Regions from separate parts of the Homo sapiens genome. Here all the other regions are linked to region 1. The links are contacts of gene promoters, found by promoter capture Hi-C in blood cells and fetal thymus (Javierre and others, 2016). All regions are on one chromosome and are shown on one strand. The core of a region is centred on a gene start or on the middle of the fragment in contact, and the rest is flanking DNA. Distances in the headings are between cores, read along the strand shown. Region 1 holds the start of KRT12 (keratin 12). Region 2 overlaps HAP1 (huntingtin associated protein 1). Region 3 has its middle 4.3 kb from the start of KRT17. Region 4 has its middle 7.6 kb from the start of LINC00974. Region 5 overlaps KRT35 (keratin 35). Region 6 has its middle 10 kb from the start of KRT32. Region 7 overlaps LOC100505782 (a long non-coding RNA gene).

What was found. Contacts are between HindIII fragments. The CHiCAGO score rates a contact against its expected background, and 5 or more counts as called.
Region 2: a contact is called between a fragment that was not itself captured here and the fragment with the promoter of KRT12 in region 1, in 1 of 17 cell types (non-activated CD4 T cells). The highest score is 5.4, in non-activated CD4 T cells.
Region 3: a fragment that was not itself captured here is called in contact with the fragment with the promoter of KRT12 in region 1 in 6 of 17 cell types (total CD4 T cells, naive B cells, naive CD8 T cells and 3 more); the score reaches 7.7 in total CD4 T cells.
Region 4: a contact is called between a fragment that was not itself captured here and the fragment with the promoter of KRT12 in region 1, in 6 of 17 cell types (total CD4 T cells, non-activated CD4 T cells, naive CD8 T cells and 3 more). The highest score is 11.3, in total CD4 T cells.
Region 5: a fragment that was not itself captured here is called in contact with the fragment with the promoter of KRT12 in region 1 in 3 of 17 cell types (M2 macrophages, M1 macrophages and M0 macrophages); the score reaches 8.7 in M2 macrophages.
Region 6: a contact is called between a fragment that was not itself captured here and the fragment with the promoter of KRT12 in region 1, in 1 of 17 cell types (M1 macrophages). The highest score is 5.1, in M1 macrophages.
Region 7: a contact is called between a fragment that was not itself captured here and the fragment with the promoter of KRT12 in region 1, in 2 of 17 cell types (M0 macrophages and endothelial precursors). The highest score is 7.1, in M0 macrophages.

Annotation. Positions count from the first base shown.
Region 1 is chr17:40,865,864-40,868,512 of GRCh38, forward strand. KRT12 (keratin 12) reads right to left here and starts at 1,360. Exons shown (of 8, transcript NM_000223.4): 1 at 757-1,360; 2 at 292-374. The coding sequence starts at 1,323. The region is part of intron 1 of LOC105371777 (a long non-coding RNA gene); the gene reads left to right. The HindIII fragment of the contact is 7,860 bases long and covers 1-2,649 here.
Region 2 is chr17:41,721,307-41,723,955 of GRCh38, forward strand. HAP1 (huntingtin associated protein 1) reads right to left here. Exons shown (of 11, transcript NM_177977.3): 11 at 1,334-2,649. Among named protein-coding and RNA genes, the nearest start is that of GAST, 10 kb to the left of the region's middle. The HindIII fragment of the contact is 2,195 bases long and covers 214-2,408 here.
Region 3 is chr17:41,627,599-41,630,247 of GRCh38, forward strand. It overlaps the pseudogene KRT42P. Among named protein-coding and RNA genes, the nearest start is that of KRT17, 4.3 kb to the left of the region's middle. The HindIII fragment of the contact is 5,188 bases long and covers 1-2,649 here.
Region 4 is chr17:41,560,818-41,563,466 of GRCh38, forward strand. No RefSeq gene overlaps it. Among named protein-coding and RNA genes, the nearest start is that of LINC00974, 7.6 kb to the left of the region's middle. The HindIII fragment of the contact is 7,476 bases long and covers 1-2,649 here.
Region 5 is chr17:41,476,251-41,478,899 of GRCh38, forward strand. It overlaps KRT35 (keratin 35), which reads right to left. Exons shown (of 7, transcript NM_002280.6): 4 at 2,584-2,649; 5 at 2,111-2,236; 6 at 1,268-1,488; 7 at 460-953. The coding sequence ends at 806. Among named protein-coding and RNA genes, the nearest start is that of KRT35, 3.6 kb to the right of the region's middle. The HindIII fragment of the contact is 6,798 bases long and covers 1-2,649 here.
Region 6 is chr17:41,456,022-41,458,670 of GRCh38, forward strand. No RefSeq gene overlaps it. Among named protein-coding and RNA genes, the nearest start is that of KRT32, 10 kb to the right of the region's middle. The HindIII fragment of the contact is 807 bases long and covers 959-1,765 here.
Region 7 is chr17:41,408,301-41,410,949 of GRCh38, forward strand. LOC100505782 (a long non-coding RNA gene) reads left to right here. Exons shown (of 3, transcript NR_040111.1): 2 at 121-2,017. It also overlaps the pseudogene KRT41P. Among named protein-coding and RNA genes, the nearest start is that of KRT31, 12 kb to the left of the region's middle. The HindIII fragment of the contact is 2,205 bases long and covers 232-2,436 here.

The sequences.
Region 1 (2,649 bases), core at 110-2,609:
GGTTTAGGACACTGGTAGGATTATGGTGTCAGTCACATCATGAGTTGAGTCAATAGCACACTACAAATATCGTGATCCATAGCCCTGGGTTTAAGTAACTTATAATTTAAGGACATTTAATCTGAATTGCATTAGATTCTAATTACTTTCTAGAACACCCTATGTGAATTTACCAAAACAGTAAATATATGGAGTATGTGAACTTCAGAAGATTTTATATCAATGAAGGCAGGACAGTAGGACAGAAGACATGGTGGGACACGCCCATGATCTTCAGTTTATTCGACTCACTTCATCCTGAAGTCCTCAGCAGCTAGTCTCGCATTGTCAATCTGCAAGAGGAGCTGGGCATTTCCAATGCTGGCTGAAATGATCTGGCAAAAGAGAGGGACACACACAAGATTGAAGCCCTAAAAGACTAGTATTATACAAATATATTTTTGACACAAAGGTGAAAATGGTGATATTAAATGCTGTTTTATTTAGAGTTTAAGACAGTTTCATTTTTCTAAGACAATATCTGTATAAAATAATATTGAGAAGTAAAGAAATGCAGATTTCCTACAGAAAGATAATGGAAATACAATCATTTCTTAGTAAATGATAAAGTGGAGTGAAACAACCTGGGATGAGAAAATTGCTGCAAGTACAGCTAAATTGGAAAATATCAAAGTTGTAGGTGATTATCACTGTAAAACATTGTAATGGTAAAAAGGAAAAAAAAAATTCCCAAAGCGCCTCCAAAAGAGATCTTACCTTATTCCTGAGGTCTTCAATCAGTGGATAATATTTGCTGTAATCGCTCTGTGAAGCATCTGCAGTCCCAGTTCCTCGTGTTTCATACCATTCTCGAATTTTATTTTCTAGCTCAGTATTAGCCTCTTCTAGAGCTCGCACCTTATCCAGGTAGGAAGCTAATCTATCATTAAGATTTTGCATAGTTTCTTTTTCTGATCCAGAAAGAAGGCCTCCATCATTGCCCGAGAGAATACCTAGAGAGCCACCTCCTGGGCTGCCCCCAAATCCCATCCCCAGCCCTCCAAAGCTACCTCCACCCAGGGCTCTCCCATAACCAGCACCCAGTCCTCCTGCCATGGAACTTCCGGAGCCACCCCCAAAGCCGGAACTAGAACCAAACATGGAAGCAGCAGAAAAGCCTCCCCCACAGCTGGCTCCAAAGCCAAAGGCACTTCCCCCATAACCACTTCCAACACTGGAAGCAGACATGCCCCTGGGTCTGCCTATCACACTCTGCGAGGAGAGCCGCCGGGACAGTCCGGGGGTGCGCACTGAGAGTGACATGGTGTTGTTGGAGAGATCCATGGCCTGGGGAAGGTGGCCACAACTGGAGAGGAAGTTGTGCCAGCAAGCCAGAAAGCTAAACTTATATAGGCTGCAAGATGGGTGTCGCAGTTGAAAAGTTCACTTTCTCCACTCAAAATTGGATCCTCCCCCCAGGTTTTTGGCCAGCTCAACAAGTGAATGATTTATGTATAATGAAAATTCATTGATACAGAAATAATCGAATAATCATTTCCATTAAATATTTGTTATATGAAAAAGAAAGCTGGGTGGAGTAGAGTCTGCTTGTCATAAGGAATTTTTCTTCTCCAAATTAGTCTGTTGCCTGTATTCCCAGCACTGCCTAGCGTCTTGTTCACAGTAGGAAGATAATGAGCGATTGCTGAATGGATACGTTAAATACTTCTTCCTAAACCTTATGCTTTTTTAAGTTCTTCCCTGATCTTTTCTGTTTGTTTCCTTTGGAAAATCCAGTGTAAACCATTTGTTTCCTTTGGAAAAACCAATCCAATGTAAAATCCAGTCATGATCAAGTATACCTTTTAGTGGAATACAGCTTCAGAAGCAGCTGTGAAATGCACTGGTGAAAGGTGGAGAATAAATATATTTTCCAGATGGATACTAGAATTTGCATTTTCAAGGATTTTAAAACCTTGGCTTTAGGATGTTGCATGTTTCTTTTCCCTCTTATTCTTCAACTTGGAAAAGTACTATTTTTGAGTACAGTTGTTTATAGTAGAGTTTATTATAGTTGTTTTAGCAGTTTTACCTTGTCTGATTGCTCACTGCTCTACACTCAGCATTTACTATGTTTATTCCTTCAACAGATATTGCCTGTAATGGTTGCTCAATAAATGTGTTGACTAGTTGAATGGATTGTGTAAACACTTCAGATTTTGTTGCCATTATCAATAAGGAGAAAGTGGAAACACAGTTCAAATTAAGAAATGATTAAAACCCCAAGTTTAAGAGGCTAGTGAACCATTTCAGTTGACTGCTATGATGAAAAAGGATAAATTTTACAATATAGAATAAATTAAATGTTATATTTTAAACTTTGTTGTGAAAACTTTGCAAAGCGTGCTTCAAGGAATTATATCCAGTATCTTTAATTTTTAAGACATAAAGTTCTTATACTTTCTTGTTTGGTATATTATTTATCTTTGAAATTGATATGGCTTATATATTGAACATGAGAACTAACGTTCTTACAGGAAATGCATTAACTTGAAAGAAGCCTGCTTTCAGAGAGAGTTGTAGATACCTGGAAACCGAGTAGTACAATTCCAGGGTGGTGGAATTCCCTTAGGAATTTAAATTGTGAGCATTTTGATTGGATAAGAAGGA
Region 2 (2,649 bases), core at 61-2,560, 860 kb after region 1:
CACAGGCCAGTGGCATCTGTGTGAGGTGCCCAGGTTCACAGAGCAGCTTGTGGCTTGCATCCACCTTGCAGGTTGCTTTTCTTCCACATCACCACTGGGGACTTGAAGATAACAGGGGCAGGGAATCCTCCAGATTTTAGGAAATTTCACTGCTTCTCCTGCTCAGTGGTCTCTGGTCCACAAGGTGTTCTCCTGCATCTCCGTTTCCTTCAAAGCTTTATCAAAGCTGGCAATTTCCCCCATGTCTGGTTTGTCTGTCATTTTCTTTTCTCTTTTTTTGAGACAGGGTCTTACTCTGTCACCCAGGTTGGAGTACAGTGGTGCAACCTCAGCTCACTGCAACCTCAACCTTCCAAGCTCAAGTGATCCTCTCACCTCAGCCTCCCAAGTAGCTGGGATTACAGGGGCTGCCACCATGCCCAGCTAATTTTTTTTGTATTTTTAGTAGAGACGGGGTTTCACCATGTTGACCAGGCTGGTCTCGAACTCCTGACCTCAAGTGATCCACCCACCTCAGCCTCCCAAAGTGCTGGGATTACAGGCATGAGCCACCGCGCCTGGCCTCCCCCAGATATTTTCTTGTGTTTTCAAATGGAGTCTCGCTGTTGTTGCCCAGACTGGAGTGCAGTGGCATGATCTCCGCTCACTGCAACCTCTGCCTCCTGGGTTCAAGTGATCCTCCTGCCTCAGCCTCCCAAGTAGCTGGGATTACAGGCACCCACCACCACGCCCAGCTAATTTTTGTATTTTTAGTGGAGACGGGGTTTCACCATGTTGGCCAGGCTGGTCTCGAACTCCTGACCTCAAATGATCCACCCACCTCGGCCTCCCAAAGTGCTAGGATTACAGGCATGAGCCACTGCACCCAGCCTCCCCCAAATATTTTCTATCTGTGGTTAGTTGACTCCACGGATGCAGAGCCTGAGGATACGGAGGGCGACTATACTTGTTCCTAAACCCTGTTCCAGGTCTGCTCTGGGGACTTCACCCTAAGACAGTGGGTGACTCTCTCCCATCCTATCTTTCACAGCCAGGCCACTGAGTCAGTCTCTGGGGTGAAAGGATCAGGGAAGCATGAGCTCAAATCCCAGCTCCACACTAGCCATGATCTGCTGGTGAGGGCATCACTTAACCTACTCTGGCCTGAGTTTCTCCATCCAACAGACACTTATGACATCACCCACCGCCCTCTAGGAGCTGCTGCTATGATTAAACGGCGTATTTAATAGGAGTCCTCGGCACATACTTCAATATTAGCATCCACCCTTTCTCTACAACTTCGCCCTGCCAAGTGCACACACACACTCCCTAGAGAGACAGCTGGAGGCTGGGCCAGGAGGGTATAGATCCTTTATTTCCTGCACCACACGCACACAGGCTGACAAGCAATAGGAGATTGAGAGGTGCTGTGTGAAGGGGGGCAGGTACCTGCAGGAGGCCTCAGTCCCAGCCCCCAGCTATTGAGGAACAAAGGTGTGGGAAAGGGCAGAACATGGAAGAGGAAGCCAGGGGCAGGGAGGGGGGGATCAAGACAGAGGGGAGAGGGGCTGGGCCACGGATGGGAGCCTGGACACCCCCAGGCCACTGGCAGAAGAGGGAGGGAGGGAGAGGAGACACACCACTGGGCAGAGGGGCCCTCACCCACCCACACACAGAGACACTTGTGGTTACAAACAGTAGGTAGGGACTGAGAAGAAAGGATGAAGAACAGGGAAGACAGCCAGGTCCCTCAAGTCAACAAGAACCAGGGTGGCTACCATTAGCATGGGCATCAAGGGGTGAGGGGCACATTGTTGGGAAGGCGCTCACAACTCCCTGCCGGTGGAAGCTGGGCCCTGTTCCCTGCTCAGGGCTGAGTCTGGTAGCCAGTGGGCCTCTCCCGGGCTTCTCCTGCCCCCTGGGCTGCCATGTGGCCCAGACCTGGCAGCCACAGCTTTTGCACCAGCTGCAGAGCGAGGGCCGGGGTTCCTACCGCCTGTCCCTGAAGACGTTGGAAAAGCCTCCAACATGTGGGAAAGGGCAGAACATGGAAGAGGAAGCCAGGGGCAGGGAGGGGTCCCCAAGCTCCAGCCCAGGTTCATGAACACAGAGGGTGGGCTGGTGACAGACACAGGGTCCCATTTCAGAGGATGGGAAGGAGGGTCTGCGGGTGTGGGGCTTGGCCAGGCAGCAGAAGGAGGGGCCTCAAGCTGTCTGTGGGGCCTCTGCAGGCTGCTGGGGAACAGCAAAGCCTGGAAGAGAAGCAGGTGGATGTGAACTGGGGCATTGATGACCACAGGCCTGGCCTGGGCGGTGGGCAGGGGTCTGATCAACTGTATCAGAAGGACACGGAAAGTCGCCATTGATAATTATGCAGGTTGCCCCCTGCATGCGCCATAAAGGTCATGGTTCAGTTTATAACCTGCACAAGCTTACATGACACGCCTGCTGAAGCCAGTGCTATTCCACCCGGCAGTGACCAAAGGGCCATGAGAATGGGGACAGGCTGGGACGGGTACCAGGACAGCACTAGAGGGGAGGGATGGGCCAGTGAAGGTGCTACAGCACAGGAGTAGAGAGGACGGGCTCAGATCTACCCCGGCTGTGTGGCCCCAAACAAGTGTCCTTAGCTCTCTGAGCCTCACCCTCCTCACCTAACCAATGGGGACA
Region 3 (2,649 bases), core at 86-2,585, 760 kb after region 1:
CTGCAGCCAGAGTGAATGTTCTAAAATCTCTTGATGTTCATTTCACTCTCCTGCTCCAAATCCCTCCATGGCTCCCCATTGCCTACGTGATCTAGTCCAGACGCTTTAACTTGGCATTCAAGGCTCCTCAGCCAGACTCCAGCCTGCATCGTCAGTATCACCTCCTGCAAACCCCAACAGGTTCCGACATTCACACCTCCTGAATTTCGCTGGTGCTCAGACACCAACTTCTCCCTGGGTGAAGCGGGCCCCCAGCCCACCCCAACAGGCACCCTGGTACACACTCACTGGGCGTCCTCAACCTCCAGCAAGCGGCGGTAGGTGGCGATCTCCTGCTCCAGCCACGTCTTCACGTCCAGAAGGACCTGTGCTTGTGGTCCTGGTGCTCCGTGTCGCAGCAGAGCTCGCACAGCTGCTGCTCCATGCTTCTGTTAAGCCCCTGCAGCTGGGCCGGCAGGGTCCTGTAACACACCTCCATCTCCACCAGGCTGCCCTCCAGCGATGCTTTCTGTGGGCCAAGAGATAGGTGGTGTGATGAGCTGGACCTGGGACCCTTCCCCATGGCAGAGCACTAGAGAGGAGCCCCTCCTGTATGGGGCTGTGGGTGCTGCCAGCACAATGAGGTGGTAGTGCACCCAGCCACTGAGTGTGAAGGGACAGGCTGGGTGGGGACTCTGGTTCCCCAAGCAGGGGTCTACAAGGCTGGGCTCACCCTGGGGTGACAGGTACAGGGTGGGGAGGGGACAGAGACCCTACCTTGCTGAGCTGGGACGGCTCAGGTTCTGCACAGAGACGTAGAGCTCCATATCTCTATCCAGCCACTCTGCAGGGCCTCTGTGTTGGTGGCCACCTCGCAGTTCAGCCCCTCTTTCTGGAAGGCAGAGTGGGCCACAGGGGTTTATGGAGACTTTCAGAAGCGGGGCACAGGAAAGGGCTGCTCCTGAACCCTCACCTCCCAGAACCATCCCCTAGCCCCTCCCTGGCCTCTATGGGGCCCCAAAGGCACCTGCACACAGAGAGCCTCTGCACCCACATTGGAACTTGGAGGAATTCAGCCTGCTCTGCGGTCATTTGCATTTCTTTTTCCTACTGAACTGCAGCACCTCAAAGACAGGCACTGGGTGTTATTCTTTTGCGCCTGTTGCTGTCCCTAGGATACCGGAGATACTCAGCCTGTGCTTGCCAAGGGTATACATATGTATTCAAATACGCACATCCTGTAAACAGCTGTGGTGGAAACCCAAGACCAGACTTGTAGAGACCTGGATCTATTTTGCAGGCCACAGTGAAGGGCTGTGTGAGCTTGAGTCCTCTCTGAGCCTCACGTTTTACATCTAAAACATGAGGGGCTGGTCCAACTGGTTTCCAAAAGTCCTTCCAACTGGGACAGCCTGTGGATCTGCCAGTGCTCCAGCTGCACCAGCATGCAGCACATGTGCCCACACGTGTACACACCTGCTTACGCACGGCCACCCACCATGCTGAAGAACCAGCCCTCGGCATCCTTGCAGCTCTTCTCCACCAATGTCTTGTCCTGGTCACGCATCTCATTCAGGATGCAGCTCAGGTTCACTCCAGGCACAGTGTCCATCTTCACACTGACATCCTCATCCACCTGACCTCAAAGGACGTTCATTTCCTGGGCAGAGAGGACAGCAGAAGCTCACCCAAGGCCATCCTGGAGAAAGACCCTGGGGCCTGCCTTCTTTCCCTCGGAGAGACAGGTACAGATGACAGACAGACAGACACAGATAGGCCAACAGCTCCTCACCCTGAAGGTGGAGGTGGATGTTGTCATTTCTCAAACATACAGGGCTGTGAATATTAGCAACCTCCCCCAACACACACCGTGACGCGGGACTGGAATTCACCCATCCCCAACAAGTGCTAAGCCCCGAGAGATGACAACCCCCCAGCACGGTGGAGGATGACCACGGGCGACCTCACTCACTGCCCTGACCTTGCCCCCACCACTGCCTTGCCCCCACCACCAAGCCCACAGCACAGGCATGCAGAAAGCAACCCTACGCTGTGTCACTGCGCCAGGCCCCGTTAGCAAATGTTAATCTGCTGGAGGAAAGCAATTGTATAACCAGCCTCAAAGCCAGGGGGAAACACCTTCCGGGTGTCCTGCTTCTCGGGGAGTAGGCTCCCCCAGCTCAGAGCAGCACAGAGCTCGGCTGAGAAGGAAGACACAGGACAGGGCATGTAAGGCCTCCTGACTGCCCCACAGGACCTTGGATCTCTATCCTTGGGTTGAGCTTTGGAGTCCCTGCGACCTAGAGCCTTCTGGAAAGGAGAGGCAGGAGAGGGGGCAGAGAGGTGGGGTGGATACGAGTCCAACAGACCTGAAGGAGGGTCCCTGTGCAGCCATAGATAAATCCCTTAACCTCTCTGAGCCTCCGTTTCTTCAAAGGTCAAAAGGAAGTAAGAGTATCTTTCTCCCAGCTGTTGTATCAGCTGAGATAATGGCTGTGAGTCACTTGTAGTGCTGGGCAGAAGTTCCTTGTTTTAATGACTATCACTATTATAATTAATTATAACAAGCATTGTGTTAATTATAACTAGCATTGTGTGTTCTTAAACTGAGTTACTCATTAGTTAGTTAACTGCAGTGAGCTGAGCCTCAAGGGACAAATGAAGTCTATT
Region 4 (2,649 bases), core at 49-2,548, 690 kb after region 1:
CCCAGTGGTATCCCAGACCAATCCTGTGGTTATTTCCCAGTGTCTGGAGTGGACTAGACATAGTCAGTAAAAGGATCCTGATCCTTACCAGTAAGGATTACGTGGTTTAGAAAAAGGACCAGCAACACTACATCTCTAAGGGAATGACAGAGATTAGTGCCACATGAAAGATTTGATGGGCCAGGAGTGGTGGCTCATGCCTGTAATCCCTGCACTTTGGAAGGGCAAGATGGGGAGAGAACACAGGAATGTAAGATCAGCCCTGGCAATAGAGTGAGATCCCTGTCTCTAGTTTAAAAAAAAAAAAAAAAAAAAAAAAAACCTCAAAAATTAGTCTGGCGTGGTGGCACACGCTTGTAGTCCCAGCTACTTGGGAGCCTGAGGTAGGAGGATTGCTTGAACCTGGGAGGTCAAGGCTTCAGTGAACTGTGATTGTACCACTGCCCACCGGCCTGGGCAACAGAGAGAGACCCTGTCTCAAAAAAAAAATGATAAATTTAGGGTTAACTTGCCTAGTTTTTCTGTGCAGAACATGAACAGATGTTAGAGAATAGCCATGAATTATTTTACAATTTATCACATGGTTGTTCCAACAGCAGTCGTTGATCCAGATTGTGTCCCTTTTCTAAAGCAGATCACCATTGACCCTGGCACCTGCTGTGGGAAATTCTTTTTTCTTTATCCCAATAAACAAAGAGTACCAGAATAAATATGCTTTCACCTGCAGAGAAAGCAACACGGTCATTCCCCTTATCCATGGTTTCGCTTTCCACAGCTTCAGTTACCTGTGGTCAACTGTCATCCAAAAATATTAAATGGAAAATTCCAGAAATAAACAATTTGTCAGTTTTGAAGTGTGCTGCCCTGAAGAGCATGATGAAATCTCACACTGCCCCACTCTGTCCAGCCCAGGACAGGAATCATCCCTTTGTCCAGCTCTCCATGCTCTATGCACCACCCACCCACTAGTCGTCGCTTAGTAGCTGTCTCAGTTGTCAGATCAACTGTTGCAGTATTGCCGTGCTTGTGTTCCCTTATTTTACTTAATTACGACCCCAAAGTGCAAGAGCAGTGATGCTGATAATTCAGATTTGCCAAAGGGAAGCCACAAAGTGCTTTTTTTTTTTTCTTAAAAGGAGTTTTGCTCTTGTTTCCCAGGCTGGAGCACAATGGCGTGATCTCGGTTTACCTCAACCTCTGCCTCCCGGGTTCAAGCGATTCTCCTGCCTCAGCCTCCCAAGTACCTGAGATTACAGGCATGCGCCACCATGCCTGGCTAATTTTGTATTTTTGGAAGAGACAGTGTTTCTCCATACTGGTCAGGCTGGTCTCAAACTCCTGACCTCAGGTGATCCTCCAGCCTTGGCCTCCCAAAGTGCTGGGATCACAGGCATGAGCCACCGCGCCCAGCCAGCAAAATGCTTTCTTTAAGAGAAAAGATGACAGTTCAAAACTTACTACGGAAAGAAAAAAACCATACGCTGAGGTTGCTAAGATCTACAGTATGATAAGATATTTTGAAAGAGAGAGACCACATTCAAATAATTTTTATTACAGTATATTGTTATAACGATTCTATTTTATTAGTTATTGTTGTTAATCTCTTGGTCTGCCTAATTTATAAAGTAAACTGTATCTTAAGTATGAATGTGTAGGAAAAAGCATAGTGTAGATAGATTTAGGTGCTATCCACAGTTTTGGGCATCCAGTCAGGATCTTTGAATGTATTCCCTGTGAAATAATGAGCAACTACTGGGCATCTTTTCCAGGATGTGCAGAGAATCAAACTTGGAGGGTATGCAAACAGAAAAATTCCCCAAATCACACTCAAGGATTGCTCTAGGAACACACCACTGCTGTCACTTCTGGCCACCAAAATTGAAGCTCAAACTATGGATGATGGGCACTGCATGTCTTTGCCAGAGCCGCTGCTATTGCTTCCTCAAAAAATCACATATCTCTGCCCAACCTTGTTCCTGCCATAAAAAATTCCACTCAGCACCTCCTTTAAATCAAAATCAAAGTCCTTCACTCCAATGGGGTGCCATGGTTAAAAAAAAAAAAAAAACGTCTTGTGCGGGCGCACCTGAGTGGCAGGGCTGTCAGGGGCCCATGCCCTAGATGCAGGTGAGCTCGGAAAAGCAAGTTTCTGACCTCTCCCTTGGGGAGCTTCACACTTAAGGTGGAGAATTTCCCAAATTGAGGTAGAGAAAAGATACATAAAATGGGCCAGGCCTTGTGGCTCACACCTGTAATCCCAGCACTTTGGGAGGCCGAGGCAAGTGGATCACCTGAGATCAAGAGTTCAAGACCAGTCTGGCCAACATGGTGAAACCCCCGTCTTTACTAAAAATACAAAAATTAGCTCAGCGTGGTGGCAGGTGCCTGTAGTTCCAGCTACTCAGGAGACTGAGGCAGAAAATCGCTTGAACCCGGGAGGTAGAGGTTGGATTGAGCTGAGATCGTGCCACTGCATTTCAGCCTGGACGACAGAGTGAGACTCCGTCTCAAAAAATAATAATAATAATAAATAAAATAAATAAAAAGATATGTAAAATGGTAGATGAGGAAGACAGCAGGTAGCAGAAAAAGAACCAGAGAAGAGTAAACAGTTGCATATTAACAGCGGAGCGCTAGAAAAGAGATCAC
Region 5 (2,649 bases), core at 83-2,582, 610 kb after region 1:
CTGCATGAAAGGGCTGCAATGGTAGGGGGCTTATGTAAATGCACCCCTAAAAGTACCCTGGGAGGGAGACACCCTATCGCCGGTCTTACAAGGACCACAGACAAGAGGCTGATAAAGTGGCCTAAAACCCTCCCTGTTATGCTGATCTCAGTTTCCATCTCAGTTTTGTCCCTCCCACTCTGGGATCCCCAGGTGACCACGTATACTAAGAGGGATTCCACAGCAGTCTGAAAACACCTGGCACCACACTGGAATCTTGGAGAAAGGTCTTCATCAGGGAAGCCAAGCAAAAGCTCTCACTGTAGGCCTCTACCCACCCCAAACAGGGGCATAGTGACCCTGTCATCCAAAGGGTCATACTTGGTCACACATCTCCCATTCGGCTGCCCAACAGTCACCCCCTGGACACAGCAGAGACACAAGCCAACAACACCAGAATGGTGCAAGTTAGGCATCAGGGGCCTGAGCAAATGCACTTTATTGTTCTGCCAACAAAAGCCCTCTACTGCATTTCAGAATCCACCGGAACAGCACCTAGAAGGAAAACCTGACCCAGGAGGCAGCCTGAGAACAGAGACCCTGGCACCCATTGAAATGATGAGGAGTTGAGACCTTTGGGGGCAGCCGGCCTTTGTGACAGGCTCTGAGAAACTTTAGGGCATGTATTTGCAGAAAGCCTTTTCAGCCAGACCCTGGGCCTGGGCTCTGCGCGAAGAGAGGGGATTGGGCTACAAGGGTTAAGTTTGGGTAGAGGCCAAGTTCAAGCCCTGGAGACAATAGCCATGGCCATCTGGGTCACCCGCTCTCAGAACCGACCCCCTGGGCAGGGCACACAAATGGGGCGGGGGCTGCAGTTTGTGCGGGCTGCACTAGGACCGCAGGAGGCCGCAGGAAGACAGGGAAGGCATGACTTGGAGGGTGAGTAGTCAGGTGCACATGGGTTACAGGGGAGCCTAGAAAAAAGAAAACAAATTACTGTGATTTTCCAGTTGCTGTTTGCAGTAACTCAAAGTAGATCCTAGACTATGCAAACTGGGAAGCACCCTAAAAACCACCTTGATCCTGCCCCCTTGTTTTACCAAAAGGGAAACAGGCCCTGAGAGGAAAGGGGGCTTGCTGGAGTCACGTGATGAGTTTTCAGGAAGACCAGAACTAAGAGAACAGAACTCCAGACTCCGAATGCCAGGCTCTTTCTAGGCACCATGCTGTCTTCCCAGAACTTGGTAGATTGCAGTGAGAAGACAAGAGCACATGCAGTGATACTCACTTGCTGTCCTCACTCTCCAGCAGGCCCCGGTACGTGTTGATCTCACACTCCAGCCGGGCCCGGACGTCCAGCAGCACCTGGTACTCCTGGTTCTGCCGCTCCAGGTCAGCCCGGATCTCGGCCAGCTGGGCCTCCACGTTGGTGATCATGCACTGCATCTGGGCCAGCTGGGAGCTATAGCGGGCCTCCGTCTCTGCCAGGGTGGATTCCAAAGCATCTCTCTGTGAGGGCAAGAGTTGTGTAGGGAGGAAAAAGGCTAGAGGTCAGAGAAGGAGCAAGGAAGGAATCTTCCTTGGAGCTATAGCGGGCCTCCGTCTCTGCCAGGGTGGATTCCAAAGCATCTCTCTGTGAGGTCAAGAGTTGTGTAGGGAGGAAAAAGGCTAGAGGTCAGAGAAGGAGCAAGGAAGGAATCTGGGTCTCAGTGAGGCCTCAGAATCCAAGAACAGAAGCTCGGAGAATCAGAGTTTGAGCTAGGATGAACCACAATCAGACATCTCACTTGAGATGAGCTAATTAGCCCCTGTGGCTTCTTTGATCTAGAAAGTATCTCCCTGTTAGTGTCATCTCTGAGTAACTGATAGTTACTCAGAAGATGTATCTGCTTGCACAAATATAGGACCTACTGCCTGGACATGTCAGTTGCTACAGGTCTCTTGTCCTTTACCACTGGGGGATTTGTGACTGGAGCTGGTCCCTCATTCCCTCTTTTCTGCATAGAGAACCCCTGGTGCTCAAGAACATGGACCCCTGGAGTCCGCCTGTGTGGTCAAAGCATGGAAGCTGGGGAGCTTGTGTGCTCCTCGGCTTGGTCCAGAGGCAGCTCCACCCTGCCTTGGGGCTCACCATGCTGTGCTGAGCCTGCAGCTCAATCTCCAGGGCGTTGACCGTGCGTCTCAGCTCGATGATCTCTGCCTGGCAGGACTGCAACTGCTCTGAGCTGGACACCACCTGCTGGTTCAGCTCCTCACTCTGAAACATACACACACAGAACCTGGTCAGCCACACCAGGGACTTGGCTTCAGAGAGCTACAGAGGCCGGTTAGAATCATGAGCCAAGAAAGACATTCCCGATTCCCCAGTCCCACTCATTTATTTTATACTGGAGGGCATTGTTGCTCAGAGGACAGCAACCTGCCCAAGTGGGTCTGTTTTGACCTTGTCAGCAAGGTCAATTGAAGTGGGTCTGTTTTGACCTTGTCAGCAAGGTCAAAACAGAGATGGGACTCAAAGTTAGATTTCTTGATTCAGAGCCCCAGGGTCACTTCCATGTGAGCCACCACATACCCCTGTTGCACTGACTGTTTCCAGGTACCTACCTGGGTGTCCAACCAGTCTTCAGCATCCCGGCGGTTATTCTCCACCAGGGTTTCATACTGGCACCT
Region 6 (2,649 bases), core at 112-2,611, 590 kb after region 1:
AAAATTAGCCAGGCATGGTGGCATGTGCCTGTGGTCCTAGCTACTCAGGAGGCTGAGGCACAAGAATCACTTGAACCCAGGAGGCAGAGGTTGCAGTGAGCCAAGATCATGCCACTGCACTCCAGCCTGGGCTACGGGGCGAGACTCTCTCTCCAAAAGAAAAAAAAATTATGAAATACAAAAAGAATATTGTTTTATTATTAATGATTTTCCTGGTTATACCCTGGAAGAGGCATATTCTTTTTTTGATCACTCTCTAAAAGGTTTCCTAATATAGTGGTGAAGAAAGATTCAGTCAGTGCAATTCAGAGTCCACACACAGCCCCAACTCCCAGATGCCAAACCCAACTCCTGGATCTTTCGGGAAGCTGTCGCCCTCTGGCCAGTCTTCCTTGAATGGCAGTTCTGCCCATGGGCCCTCACTCTCACCCCCAGAAGAGGGTGCTTTGCACTAGGGCAGTGAGCAGCAGGGGTGAGGCCCAAACTCTTGAATAGCCTTGGGGAAAGTGGTGTCTTTAAAAAGCACACCCTTTTCTTTTCCAATCCCGCTCAGAGAGGATCCCTGATACCTGTGAGGGTTTCTCCAAAACATCAAATATGACAGAGGTTTTATGACTTGACCAGGGTCCTGCCTACATTTCCCTATAAACTCTTCCCCTATAAAGAGTTAATTAGATGCAAATGCTTTGATATGAGGAGAGAGTTCCTCTGAGAATCTCCATGAGTGGTACACTGAGTCCAGTTCCCAGGAGATTCCGGTGCTGGTGGGGGATAAATATCTCCCAAAGTCTATGCCCACGGCTTCTTCATCCATCAAATAAGAGACAGGCTAGGCAGGAGGGTAGCTCGTGACACCTCTGGCTTGAAGTACCATCCAGACACAGAAGATGATGGGCCTCACTTCTAGCAGAGGAGGGTACTCCTGGCCCTGGGCTGTGGGGCTTGGTTTCATATAAAAAGCTTTAACAGTCATCTTGGGAGTCAGACAGGTCTTGGCAAGTGGGAGAGACACACAGGTGTGGGAATGGGGACCGAGTTGGACTGAAACAATATGCACTGGGGAAACGGAGACTCTGGAAGTCCCCAGGGGGTCCAGGGTCCAGGACTTCTGGCCCACAACTCCTGTGCAATCATTCCTGCTGAGGCTCTGGGCTGCAGCTCAAGGTCTTTGCTCTTACTGAGCCCAGTGCTCAAAGAAAGAGGAGATGCTGAGTCTGGTAGTTGCTAGCGATGCTTTTTAAGAGAACTATATTCCCAGGAAGAAGTTTCAGCTTCTCAGAGAAAATGTCTCCCTTCTTTGGGAAATGAAAGAAAAGGAGAGGGGAAATATGTATTAGCCTGAAATAATAATAAACCTAGGGTGCTTGGAGAAAGCATAAAGTGCTTGGAGAGACCTAAGAGGCTTGGCGTCAAAACCCTTGGCTTCAATTTCCACCTGTTGGTTGTGTCTGTGAGCACATCTGTCCACCTCCCTGGGTCTGAGATGACTCTTCTGTAAAACTGGGAAAGCTGAGCCAGATCATCTGGAAGGCTCCTTCTAGTTCTGACAGTCTAAGACAGCTCTGTCCAGTAGAACTTTCTGCAGTGTTGGAAATAGTCCATGTCTGTGTTGTCTTATTTACTACCACTTAGCCACGTGTGACGAGTGCAACTCAGTGCAATTCAGTATATGAAACATTCATATACCGAATGTTTCAGTATATGCAGCCACATGTCGTTATGAACTACCATATTGGACAGAACAGGTCTAGGATTATAGAACCAAAGCTTTGGTCTGTTCTGTGTGTTGTTTATCAAGCTGAGCACATTCCAGAAAAGTTTTGCACCGGGGTTGAAATTAAAGATTGCTGGTTTGCACGCAGTTATGAGAAAATTCAATTAGCCAGAACCCCTCTCTCTTGGCATTTCAGCTCCTTGAAATTTTACCCATCCATCAACCAGGAACCACAGCTTGCTAAGCAGTATGTTCATGTCCCTGCTGTCAGGCTAATGACCTTGTCTGCCAGGGATGCCTGCAGGATCATGTCTGGAGAGCAGCCTGCAGGCAGCTTCAGGATCCAATCCATTTTTCATCATTTCTTGGCAAGGCCAGAGGGAGGATACTTAATAGAAACATCATCTCAGCTCATTAAGGAAGAACTGTGTGTTTGGAGGGTGAGGTTCAGAAAGGTGTTCAAGATTCCTGTCCCCAGCTCTCTCCTCTTTACCTGCCATGGCCAATCCATTGCCAAGTCAGGTCCATCACAGTGTCTCTTAGATTGATTCCTTATTTTTCCATGGTCCCTGACATTGTCTTGCCTGAGACCCTGTTAGCTTCTTCCACAGCCTAACCCCTCCTCTTAGCTATCCTGTCTGTGTTACTTGGTGATACTTTCTAAGATGCCACTCAAGTCATGTCATCTTTGGGCTCAAATCCTGCAGCAGCCCTCCCATTGCCTTCAGGATAGAGTCCAGAATCCAGGCTTTTTGTGGGGTACCCAAGGCCCCCCTACTCTCTGATGCCTTTCTACCATTTGAGCTTCATCCCCATCAGCCTCTCACAGGAACTCACTGCTCCAGCCAGCAAGACCCCTTGAGGCCTTCCAAGCATGACCCCCTGCTCTCCTGAAGATCCCCACACACTTACTTGCCTATCTGGTGCCCTGTAGA
Region 7 (2,649 bases), core at 84-2,583, 540 kb after region 1:
CTCCCAGCTGACCCCTTAGAGTGTGGGCTTCCTGTAGGCATCAGAGGAGTATGACCCGCCTGCAGGGCCCCCAACTGCCCTTCACCCAAACTCTCAACTCCCACTTTCCATCCTCCCCAGTAATTTCCCTGTGCTCCTCTGAAGATAAACCGCTGCCTGCACCAGCCTAGCAGCTTCCAGAAGCTGTGGATGAGAAGCAATCTCCCACCAAAAGCCAGAGCTCACCTGCAAAGCTTCAATCCCAAGCAGAAGGAAGCCTCCGTTTTTTCCCCCCAGATGAGCCTGAATTCACCTCCAGAAAGTCTCAATGCATCACACCAAGGGTCACACACCTGCTCATGGTTCTTCTTGAGGCAAAGCAGCTCCTCCTTCAGGGACTCCAGCTGGGCCTCCAGGTCACACTTGGCGAGGGTGAGGTTGTCTAGCACCCTGCGCAGGCCACAGATGTCAGCCTCCACCAGCTGTTGCAGCGAGCGCTCTCTCTCGTACCTGTAACAGGGAAAGTGCAGGAGTGACAGTTAGAGGGCAGGAAGGGGCACCAGGACATGACTCCCAGCTCGCAGCTGTAAGTCCACTGGCCTGCCCTTTGCCATCTAATTGTGAGTTGGCTTATCCTGTGTAGTGTGCTCAAAGCCCAGAAAGCAACAGGATGTTCCCCACTCAGTCAATACTAAGCACCTGAGATGAACCAAGGGGAGCAGCTGGTACTGAGGATACTGTGATGGACACACAGCCAGCACCTGCCTTTACACACAATGGCCCAAAAGGGAGGTGGCAAAGTAACCAGGCATTTGCAACACAGTGCAATCACTGCAGGCCCCTCTCTACAAGCCCCATACCCAAAGGGACCCTGGATTCCCTATTAGAGTAAAAGCCACATTGCCAGCATGAGAGGAAGGAAATGGCTTTCTTTAGCTCTAGAAGAGTGAGACTTGCACAGTGCCCCGAAGAAAGATGATAAAACACAATGCCCTTCCAGCACCCAGGGTAGACCCTCCTCAGGTGGTGTCAACCCTTTGACTTTCACATGTTTTCATCTTAGGCTATGGAGCATGATTTCTGCTATGAATTATCAGCACTCACAAATTAATCAAGCTGCAGCACAGAAACATATCCTTATTAAGGCAACAGTTTCACAGGAAATTGCTTCAAGAAAGGAAAATTTGGTACAAAATTTAAGGCCAAGTCCCAGCTCTGCCACTCGGTACCCACATGGCTTCTGGCAAGTCACACCAGCACCCCAAGCCTCAGGGTCCCCACCTGTGGAGGAGATTCTATCCCTGCCCGCCTGCTTCACAAGTTGCTTACCAGGTGGATGATGCATTCTAGCACATGTTGTAAACTGTTAATGCTAAACCACTGGAGAGCGGATAGTTTTTCAGGATCTTGAGCTTAATGCCCTTTGTTCTCTTCTGCTATAACTACTGGGTTGGGGTCTGGGTCAATGACATCCGATGCCACATGAGACAGAAGCAGCCAACTTGGCATTGTCCCATCCCCATCCAACCCCAACTCTCACTTGGCTCCTTCCCATCCCTGTCCAACCCCAACTCACTTGGTCCTGAAGTCATCTGCAGCCAATTTGGCATTGTCTATTTGCACAACCAGCCTATTGTTCTCCGATTTGGTGCACAGAATCTGGGGTAAGAAAGTAGGCTCAGTAAGTGACTTACTGATCCCAGAGACACCTATAGCCTCAGGTGAGAGGAAGTTTTATTGGCTGAAGTTGAACCTACAGCATCCGCCTGGACAACACAAACTCCCAAACGTGCAAGAGATGCTTTTGTGGTGTGGGAAGGAAGATGTGCAAGAGACTTCTTGGAAAAGGATGAAGACATAGAGTCAAAGGAACCAGGAGATGGAAGACAGTAGCAAACTGAACATATAACAAAGACTTGCTTTCATTTTGCCAGATATGATGCTTAGCCCAATATAAATAAGAAGATCTGGCCGGACGCAGTGGCTCATGCCTGTAATCCCCGCACTTTGGGAGACCAAGGCAGATGGATCACCTGAGGTCAGGAGTTCAAGACCAGCCTGGGCAACATGGTGAAACACCATCTCTACTAAAAATATAAAAGTTAGCTAGGAGTGGTGGCGCACACTTGTAATCCCAGCTACTCAGGAAGCTGAGACATGAGAATCACTTGAACCTGGGAGGCAGAGTTTGCAGTGAGCTGAGATTGCACCACTGCACTCCAGCCTGGGTGACAGAGCGAGACTTTGTCTCAAAAAAAAAAAAAAAAAAACTAGGCCACAGAACAGAGGACTGGCTATGAATGTTTTAGATAAAGTAGGATCTGTTCTAAAGAAGATCTTTCCTCTGGTTGTCCAACCTCCCCACAGGTCTTCTCTGAATCTAGCCAGGTTTCTGTAACCCCTATTTTGACATTCCTTGTCTTCTTGTCTCCAAAACTAAGATGTAGGCTCTTCAGAAGCTTTAACTGGATAATCAAAGGTGACAATAGATATGCATAAGAGGTTGATGCTGTTGTGTGGATAGACACTGCCTTGGCAAGGATGTTAGGAAATATTCCTTTTGCCCTGTTTACTGCACCAGAAGTTTCAGTATACTGCAACTTTCATAAACTCAGCACGGTTTTTGCATGGTTTTCATGAAAATAGCATGATTTTTGTGACTACGATTTA